Regions from separate parts of the Homo sapiens genome. Here all the other regions are linked to region 2. The links are contacts of gene promoters, found by promoter capture Hi-C in blood cells and fetal thymus (Javierre and others, 2016). All regions are on one chromosome and are shown on one strand. The core of a region is centred on a gene start or on the middle of the fragment in contact, and the rest is flanking DNA. Distances in the headings are between cores, read along the strand shown.

The links. Contacts are between HindIII fragments. The CHiCAGO score rates a contact against its expected background, and 5 or more counts as called.
Region 1: a contact is called between a fragment that was not itself captured here and the fragment with the promoter of ERCC3 in region 2, in 4 of 17 cell types (neutrophils, megakaryocytes, erythroblasts and 1 more). The highest score is 5.7, in neutrophils.
Region 3: a contact is called between a fragment that was not itself captured here and the fragment with the promoter of ERCC3 in region 2, in 1 of 17 cell types (neutrophils). The highest score is 5.6, in neutrophils.

Annotation. Positions count from the first base shown.
Region 1 is chr2:127,688,387-127,692,021 of GRCh38, reverse strand. No RefSeq gene overlaps it. Among named protein-coding and RNA genes, the nearest start is that of SFT2D3, 11 kb to the left of the region's middle. The HindIII fragment of the contact is 6,533 bases long and covers 1-3,635 here.
Region 2 is chr2:127,292,205-127,295,495 of GRCh38, reverse strand. It overlaps ERCC3 (ERCC excision repair 3, TFIIH core complex helicase subunit), which reads left to right and starts at 1,352. Exons shown (of 15, transcript NM_000122.2): 1 at 1,352-1,442; 2 at 1,778-1,983; 3 at 2,650-2,886. The coding sequence starts at 1,415. The HindIII fragment of the contact is 2,323 bases long and covers 5-2,327 here.
Region 3 is chr2:127,588,350-127,591,699 of GRCh38, reverse strand. It overlaps MYO7B (myosin VIIB), which reads right to left. Exons shown (of 48, transcript NM_001393586.1): 15 at 3,145-3,308; 16 at 1,471-1,608. Among named protein-coding and RNA genes, the nearest start is that of MYO7B-AS1, 41 kb to the left of the region's middle. The HindIII fragment of the contact is 8,153 bases long and covers 1-3,350 here.

The DNA of each region.
Region 1 (3,635 bases), core at 974-3,473, 400 kb before region 2:
ACCAGCATATTGATATGGTTTAGCTTTGTGTCCCCACCCAACTCTTATATCAAATTGTAATCCACGATGTTGGAAGTGGGGCCTGGTGGGAAGTGATTGGATCATGGGGGTGGTTTCCAATGATTTAGCATCCCCCTTGGTTGTGATAGTGAGTGTGTTTTTGTGAGATCTTGTCATTTAAAAGTGTGTAGCACCTCCCCCCTCCCTGTTTCTTCCTCCTGCACTGGCCATGTAAGACATGCCTGTTCCCCATTTGCACTCTGCCATGATTGTAAGTTTTCTGAGGCCTCCCCAGAAGCTGAGCAGATGCTGCCATGCTTCCTGTACAGCCTGCAGGACCATGAGCCAATTAAACCTCTCTTCTTTATAAATTACCCAGTCTCTGGAATTTCTTTATAGCTATGCAAGAATGGACTAATATAGAAAATTGGTACTGAGGAGTGGGACATTGCTATAAAAATACCTGAAAATGTGGAAGTGACTTTGGAACTGGGTAATGAGCAGAGGTTGGAAGAGTTTGGAGGGCTCAGAAGAAGACAGGAAGATGAGGGGAAATTTGGAACTCCCTACGGACTGGTTAAATGGTTGTGACCAAAATGCTGATAGTAATATGGATAGTGAAGGCCAGGGTGAGGAGGTCTCAGATGGAAATAAGGAACTTAATGGGAACTGGAGCAAAGATAACCTTTGTTACATATTCGCAACAGAACCTGGTGGTGTTGTGCCCCTGCCCTAGGGATCTGTGGCACTCTGAACTTGAGAGTGATGATTTAGGGTATCTGGTGGAAGAAATTTTTAAGCTGCAAAGTGTTTACGGATTGGCCTGGCTGCTTCTAACAACCTACGCTCATATGTGTGAGCAAAGAAATGACCTGAACCTGGAACTTATATTTAAAAGGGAAGCAGAGTGTAAAAGTTTGGAAAATTTGTAGCCTGGCCATGTGGTAGAAAAGAAAAGCTAATTTTCGGGGGAGGAATTCAAGCAGGCTGCAGAAATTTGCATAAGTAAAGAGGAGCCCAAGTGCTAATAGCCAAGACAATGGGGAAAAGGTCTAGAAGGCATTTCAGAGACCTTCGTGGCAGCCCCTCCCAGCACAGGCCTGGATGCTTCAGAGGACTGAATGGTTTTCTAGGTCAGGCCCAGGGCCCTGCTGCCCTGCACAGCCTTGAGACTCTACTCCCTGCATCCCAGCTGCTCCAGCTCCAGCTGGCTGAAAGGGGCCCTGGCCACTGTTTCAGAGGGTGCAAGCCATTAAACTTGGCAACTTTCATGTGGTGTTAAGCCTGCAGGTGCACAGAATGCAAGAGTTTAGGCTTGGGAGCCTCTGCCTAAATTTCAGAGGATGTATGGAAATGCCTGGATGTTCAGGCAGAAACCTGCTGCAGGGGCAAAGCCCTCATACAGAACCTCTACTAAGGCAGTGTGGAAATGTGGGGTTGGAGCCCCCACACAGACTCCCCACTGGGGGACTACCTAGTGGAGCTGTGAGATGAGGACCTCTGTCTTCCAGACCTCAGAATGGTAGATCCACTGGCTGCTTGCATCCTGCACCTGGAAAAGCCACAGGCACTCAAGACCATCCCTTGAGAGCAGCCATGTGGGCTGAACCCTGCAAAGCCACAGGGGGAGAGCTTCCCAAGGCCTTGGGAGCCCAGCTCTCACACTAGTGTCCCCTGGATGTGGGGCATGGTGTCAAATGAGATTATTTTGGACCTTTAAGATTGAACGACTACCCTGCTGGGTTTTGAACTTGCATGGGGCCTGAAGCCCCTTTCTTTTGGCTGATTTCTCCCTTTTGGAATGGGAGTATTTAACCAATGACTGTACCCCCATTGGAAGTAACTAACTTGTTTTTGATTTTACAGGCTCATAGGTGGAAGGAACTTGCCTTGTCTCAGATGAGATTTTGGACTTTTGAGTTAATGCTGGAATAAGTTAACACTTTGTGAGACTGCATGATTATATTTTGAAATATCAGAAGGACATGAGATTTGGGAGGGGCCGGCGGCAAAATGATATGGTTTGTGTCCCCACCCAAATCTCGTGTTAAATTATAATTCCCAGTGTTAGAGGTGGGGCCTGGTGGGAGGTGACTGGATCATGGGGGCAGTTTCCAGTGGTTTAGCACCATCCTCCTTAGTCATAATAGTGAGTTCTCATAAAATCTGGTCATTTACAAGTCTGGGCCAGGCACAGTGACTCACACCTGTAATCCCAGCACTTTGGGGGGCTAAGGGGGGGCAGATCACCTGAGGCCAGGAGTTCAAGACCAGCCTGGCCAACATGGTGAAACCCTGTCTTTACTAAAAACACAAAAATTAGTTGAGTATGGTGGTGGGTGCCTGTAATCCCAGCTACTTGGAAGGCTGAGGCAGGAGAATTACTTGAACCTGGGAGGCAGAGGTTGCAGTGAGCAGAGATTGCACCACTGCACTCCAGCCTAGGCCAGAGTGAGACTCCAGCTCAAAAAAAAAAAAAAAAGTAGCACCTCCCTGCTCCTTCTCTTTTCCTTCTGCTCTGGCCATGTAAGATGTGCCTGTTTCTCCTTCACCTTCTGCCATGAGTATAAGTTTCCTAAGGCCTCCCCAGAAGCCAAGCAGATGCTGCCACACTTCCTGTACAGCCTGCAGAACTGTGAGCCAATTAAATCTCCTTTCTTTATAAATTACCCAGTCTCAGGTATTTCTTTATAGCAATGTAAAAATGGACTAATACACATAAGAATAATGGAGAGAAGTGAGAGAAAGGGACATAAAAATTATTAGAAGGCACAATGGCTGAAAATTTCCCCAAATTATTTGCTTATTTATTTAAAATTTATTAATATTATCATGTTTATAGAAAGAGTCTTGCTCTGTCACCCAGCCTGGAAGGCAGTGGCACAAGCATAGCTCACTCTAACTTTGACTCCCTGGGCTCAAGCATTCTTCCTGCCTCAACCTCCCAAGTAGCTAGGACTACAGGCATGCACCCCAATGCTCAGCTAATTTTCAAGTTTTTTGTAAAGACAGGGTCTTGCTGTATTTCCTAGGCTGGTCTTGAACTCCTAGCCTCAAATGATCATCCCACTTCAGCCTCCTAAAGTCCTGAGCTTACTCATCACCTAAAGGCAAGAGCCACTGTGCCTGACCAATTTCCCCAACTTTGATGAAAAACATTATTCTAAACATCTGAGAAACAATGAATTTCAAGTAGGATGAACACAAAGGCATTCACACTCAGACATATTATAGTCAAATTTTGAAAGCCAAAGATAAAGATAAAATCTTAAATGCAGCAAAAGGAATACAATTCATTGTGTACCAGTAGTACAATAATATTGACAAATGATGTCTCATCAGAAGCAATGGGGGCTAGAAAGCCGTGGTATGACATGTTCAAAGTGCTTAACAGTAAAAACAAAACAACAACAAAAAACCTGTTAACCAATAATTCCATACCCAACAAAACTATCTTTCAACAATAATGGCAAAATAAAAAGCACTCCAAAATAAATAAAATCTGACTGAATTTATTGCTACCAGTCCTGAGTAACAAGAAATATTTAAGGTTTTTCAGATAGAAAGCAAGTGACACCAGAAACTAATTTGAATCCACATGAAAAACAAAAGTGTTGGTAAAAGTAGATAATTAC
Region 2 (3,291 bases), core at 103-2,602:
AGCTTATCACTTATAAGTTCTACTTTCCACCCAACAGAATACAATTCAGGCAAGCTCTCTACCACTTGCCTCCAGTTTCAATAACATATTTCTCCTTTCCATCTGAGCCGTCACCAGAATCACCTTTAATGCCCATACTTCTACCAAGGCTCTTCAAGACAATAGAGGCTTTTCTATCATGCGCCTCAAAATTCTTTCAGCCTCTACCGATTACCCAATTTGAAAACCACTTCCCCATTGTTAGGTATTTGTTACAGCAGTACCCTATTCCCCGTACCAAAAATCTGTGTTACGTTCTCCAGAGAAACAGAACCAAGAGGCCCACTGAGCAAGCGAGATTGATTGATTGATTTTAAAGAATTGGCTCATGCAATTGTGGGGGTTGGCAAGTTGGGAATTCAGGTACGAGTTGATGTTGTAGTTTTGAGTCCAAAGGCTGGAAACTCAGTCAGAACTTTCTGTGTTGCAGTCTGGAGGCAGAATTCCTTTTTCCTTGAGAAACCTGTCTTTGCTCTTAAGGCCTTCAACTGATTTGGATGAGGCCCACCCGCATTATTGAGGGTAATCTGCTTTATTTAGGCTGAGACATGAGAATGGCATGAACCCGGGAGGCGGAGCTTGCAGTGAGCTGAAATCGCGCCACTGCATTCCAGCCTGGGCGACAGGGCGAGACTCCGTCTCAAAAAAAAAAAAAAAAAAAAGAAAAAAATTTTTTTTGAGACGAACTCTCGGCCTGTCGCCCAGGCTGTAGTGCAGTGGTGCAATCTCAGCTCAGTGCAGCCTTTACCTTCTGGGTTCAAGAGATTCTCCCATCTCAGCCTCCCAAGTAGCTTAGACTACAGGCGTGTGCCACCATGCCTGGCTACTTTTTTTTGTATTTTTCGCAGAGATGGGGTTTCACCATGTTGGCCAGGCTGGCCTCGAACTCCTGACCTCAAGTGATCCACCCACCTCAGCCTCCCAAAGTGCTGGAATTACAGGCGTGAGCCACCGTGCTCAGCCAAATTTTTTTTAATTAAAAAAAAGAATTCTTCCTTACCCATGGACTCAGGTCACATTCTCTCTCTCTCTCTCTCACACACACATTTATTGCCCACATGGCTTCATTAAAATTTAAGTTCCAGAAGGATGAGGCCTTTAATTCGCGCACTACACAGGTGCTCAACACACAGTATTTTCCTTCAGTTGTAGAGAAATGAACAGTGGAGGACCCCCGCCGCTGGGTCGCACGAGCTAACAGATCGGCGGTCGCTGGCTCTCCGCTCTTCCAGCCACCCACATCACGGCGCCTAGAGGCGGGACATCCTGTGTGGACAACAGGGAGCTTCCGGATTGAGCCGGAAGTCCCCCCAGAGCGGATGCCGCGGCGGGCCTGTGGGAGCGGGGTCATCTTCTCTCTGCTGCTGTAGCTGCCATGGGCAAAAGAGACCGAGCGGACCGCGGTGAGACGTTGCGCGGGCACGCTCAGCCACGACTGCCCTTGCCGGCCCTGCCCCCCGCTCTGCCTCGGAGCTGCTCCGGGCCTCTGCGCCGGCCGACCCTGCTGGCCCTCCCGCGCGCACCCCGTTGGGACAGGCCTTTGGGCGGGAGAGATGCTGGACCTGGGCGCAGCCCAGCGAACTCGGCCTAGGGGAGACGGGTGAGGGGCGCAACGCCTGCGGGATGCAGGTGGCTCTTAGCTAGGAGTTTGCGGCGGCGCAGGTGAAATGCTGCCAAGCGGTGCGGAGGGAACCCTGAAGGCTCCTGCTGGGCTTACTTCTGTGTTGGTATCTTGCAGACAAGAAGAAATCCAGGAAGCGGCACTATGAGGATGAAGAGGATGATGAAGAGGACGCCCCGGGGAACGACCCTCAGGAAGCGGTTCCCTCGGCGGCGGGGAAGCAGGTGGATGAGTCAGGCACCAAAGTGGATGAATATGGAGCCAAGGACTACAGGCTGCAAATGCCGCTGAAGGACGACCACACCTCCAGGCCCCTCTGGGTGGTAAGCATGCCCTTAGCTTGGGCAGGGCCCAGGAGTGTGCGGAGCGGCAGCTAAATCTTGGGCATCCTCAGAGTCAAAACTGACATTCAGGATACTGCCCCTAGAACTGGCCGGGAGAGAATTTTCATCCACACACGTTGGAACAGCCCAAGGCAACAGCGAGCAGTTGCGCACACGTGTGGCGGCCGGACCTGGGCTTCCAACAGCTCTAACCCCTCGGTTTACTCTCACTCCTTCCCCAGCCCTACCCCATGTAGTGAATCCTTTTATCTGCCGAATAAATAGCATTTATCATGTAACAGTTTGTTTCCTCAAATAATGGAAGACATGTTCGGTAGCAAGCTTTTGCTCTACTTTAAATAATTAATGTTATACATTTAGTTGAAATCTAGCCAAAAGGTAACTTGAGGATAGCCAGTAAGATGGGCTTTCTCTGTGCAGAATAGTAGGAAACAGCTGTTGACTTTGGAAACACTTTCTTCTATTTTTCTTTACTCTTCTGTATCTGATTAATGTAACAGGCCCCACAGTTGTCTGAAGGAGTGCTTGCAAGAATATCTGTGGTGTTGGGCAGCTTATTCTTTCTTGATAATGATATGGGCAAGAGCCCAGTAGTCTCTGCAACTCATGTTTCCTTGTCTGTTTTGTCCATTTGGTATCTCTCAGGCTCCCGATGGCCATATCTTCTTGGAAGCCTTCTCTCCAGTTTACAAATATGCCCAAGACTTCTTGGTGGCTATTGCAGAGCCAGTGTGCCGACCAACCCATGTGCATGAGTACAAACTAACTGCCTACTCCTTGTATGCAGCTGTCAGCGTTGGGCTGCAAACCAGTGACATCACCGAGTACCTCAGGAAGCTCAGCAAGACTGGAGTCCCTGATGGAATTATGCAGTTTATTAAGGCAAGTGACAGCTGAGACCAGCAATTCCACCTGCCCTGCTAATGTAACAATAGGCATAGGTGCTCCATGTTGTCAGCCTGTGGCAGCCATGAGAATGTGCCATTCAGATTTCCTGTGGGGAGCATAACGACTGATTACCCCAGCCGCTACACTCTGGATCCAGCATTGTGTTCTGGGTGAGGCCATGCTTCTCATGAGCCGCTACACTCTGGATCCAGCATTGTGTTCTGGGTGAGGCCACGCTTCTCATGAGCCGCTCCCAGCTGTGGGTATTAACACAGAGGGGCTACTAATTCAGGCCCATTGTAGCCAGGGAGAATTTGGAAATGCAGCCCAAAGTGAGTGTGCTGGGGACTGAATTGTGTGTGTTCCCCTCAAATTTTGTCTTCAAAACCTAATATCCAA
Region 3 (3,350 bases), core at 321-2,820, 300 kb before region 2:
GTGGCAAACCCACCAGCAGGCACTGTTACCCCACCTGCAGGGTCACAGCGCCAACTGCTGGTGGGGTCCAGGCCACACTGAGCTTAGCCTCGGGTAAGTGTTTAGCTGCGCTTCACTGACGATTTCCTATGGGCCTGGTGTTTCTCACTGAATCTTTACAACATTCCTACCTGGTGGGGGTGATTGGCTCCAACTTAAAGATGAGGTGCTGAGGCATAGGGTTTTGCTTCTAAGGGGCTGAGCCTGGGTTTGAACCCTGAGCAGCCACCAATGAGAGATATCCCAGCCAGAGGCACTCTTAACCCCCGAGCTTCAGCCTCAGGCCTGCCTGCCTGTCCTGCAACTCCCAGCTCCCAAGGTAGGCAGGGTCTGAACGAGCCAAGGGTCTCTGGGAGCCCAGCTACTTCTCCCAGCAGTTAAGGAACAAGATAGGTTATCTCACATCTGCCTATTTTGCCTTCAAGGAAGATGCAACCTAGATTTCATAAGGCAAGCCTCATTTTATTTTTTTAGAGACAGGTCTTGCTCTGTCACCCAGGCTGAAGTGCAGTGGTGTGATCATAGTTCACTGCAGCCTTGACCTCCTGGGCTCAAGTGATCCTCCTCCCTCAGCCTCCTGAGTAGCTGAGACTACAGGCACATACCACCATACCTAGCTAATTTTTATACTTTTAAATTTTTTTGCAGAGATAAGGTCTTACTATGTTGCCCAGGCTTGCCTCAAGCAATCCTCCCGCCTCAGCCTCCCAAAGTGCTGGGATTACAAGCGTGAGCTACTGCACCCAGATCAAACTCGATTTCACATAGTTTTATTCTTTCCAAAAAGCATTTAATTTCATGTAATATTTTTATTCCCTTATGGGGATAAAACCATTTTATATTGTTTCAGCTGATGTCTCCTAGTTTGGGGAATCCCTGCATATGCGGCCTCTGGGTGGGACTCCCCACCCAATGGAGCAGGGACTCCGTTGTGGGCAGGGAGTGTGGGCTCTCACCCCCTCACCGTCTCACAGCAGGTAAAGCTGACTGTCTGCAGGGCTGGTGAAAGGAGTGGTGTCAGCCTCTAAAGTCCTATTACTGATTTCTGCCTTTGTTGAGTGTGGTTTACATATGGGACATGTACTGCAAACCTCATGTCCAACCCTCAGTGCATTCCTGCAGGCAGGAGCAAGTCTGACTTAACAGAAGGGAAAACTGAGGCTCACAGCAGCAAAGAGCCAGGCCAAGAACGCACAGAAGATGCATGGCGGAGCTAAGGGAACTGAGGTCTCAGCAACCCAAAGCTCTGCAGGTCACTGACCTTCACATGACCTAGTCTGGTCACCTTACCCCAGTGTACTTATCTGTAAGGTAGGGGCAGTAACAGCTCTAACGCTAGCCAGGCCCTGGCAGAGGGAGTGACCACAACCCTAGAGGCCATCAGCCTCCTCCTCCTCCCTCCTTTGCTGTGCCCCAGCCTCCTGTCATTACCAGCGGCTTCTTGTACTCATTAGGTTTGATGCAGCGGATGAAGTAAGGCTGGCAGTTGGTCAGGATTTTCATCAGCTGGTCCAGAGACTGTTTGAACTGGCTTCCTAAGGTGGAGGGCCGTTTATTTGAGTCTGCAGACTGTGAATGGAAGCACAGAGCACAAGTGGGTCTCAGGAGCCATGTCCTGGGACAGCTGACCCTGTAGGCCAGCAAGGGTTGCGGCCAAGGCCCCACAGGTGGGGTGGTGCATCTACCTATTCAAGAATCCACCCACCCACCCATCCATGTATCCATCCACCCACTCACCCATCCACCCACCCCTTCACCCATCCACTCACACACCTATCCATCCACCCACCCACCCATCCACCCGCCCACCACCCATCCACCCACTCACCCATCCTTCCACCTACCCAGCACCCATCCACCCACCCACCCATGCGTCCATCCATTCACCCACCCACCCACCCATCCATCCTTCCATCCACTCACCAACCCACATAGCCACCCGCCCATCCATCTATCCATCCACCCTCTCACCCATCCACCCACCCACCCATCCACCCACCCATTCACCCATCCATTCACCCATGCACCCACTCATCCATCCACCCACGCACCACCCATCCACCCACTCACCCATCCATCCACCTACTCACCACCCATCCACCCACTCACCCATCCACCCATGGCCCCACTAAGGCCATGCTCTCCACCCCTCTACCCAGGCGTGGCCCCCACCATCTACCCAGCACAAAGTCACTTCTCCTATCTAAACTCTGGACCCCCCAGATTCCCATTCCCACTCCAAACCCCCTTATATAAGCTGCCACATGCACCCACCCATGCACCCATTCATTCACCATTCCACCCACCCATCCATCCATCCACTCACCCATCCACACAGCCACCCACCCATCCATCTATCCATCCACCCACCCACCCATCCACCCACCCATCCATCCACTCACCCACCCACACAGCCACCTGCCCGTCCATCTATCCATCCACCCACTCACCCATCCACCCATCCATTCACCCATCCACCCACCCACCCGTCCATCCACTCACCCATCCACACAGCCACCCACCCATCCATCTATCCATTCACCCACTCACCCATCCACCCAACCATCGACACACCCATTCACCCATCCACTTACATACCCATCCACCCATCCACTCACCCACCCATCCATCCACCCACCCACCACCCATCCACTCACTCACCCATCCATCCACCCATCCACTACCCATCCACCCACTCACCCATCTATCCACCCAACCACCCATTCACCCGTCCATCCACTCACCCATCCATCCACTCATCCATCCATCCATCCAACCAACCAACCACACATCCATTTACCCATCCACCCTCACACACCCATCCACCCATCCACTCACCCACCCATCCATCCACCCACCCATCCATCCACCCACCCACCACCCATCCATCCACTCACCCATCCACCCACCCACTACCCATCCACCCACTCACCCATCTATCCACCCACCCATCCATTCACCCATCCATCCATCCATTGCAGGATTCCCAAGTGCCAACTGCATGCTGTGGACCCAGAGGTGAGTAAAACAGTCTTTCCTGTACATGTCTGTCTGGCCCTGTAGCCATCAGGGGTGACAGACCCAGGAGGGTGCCTGGGAGCCCACCTTGAAGAGATGGTTTCCTGCCTTTGCCTGGCGGATGGTCCCATGGCCCAGCTTGGTCTCTGCTAACTCCAAGTTGAATATCTCCCTCAGAAACTTGTTTTTGGAGGAGTAAACCAGGGTGAGGATATCTGTGCTCAGCACGTCTCGGTTCTTCTCCAGGAAGCCTGTGGAGACACAGGGCCCACCCAGCATCCCAGCTTAGCCAT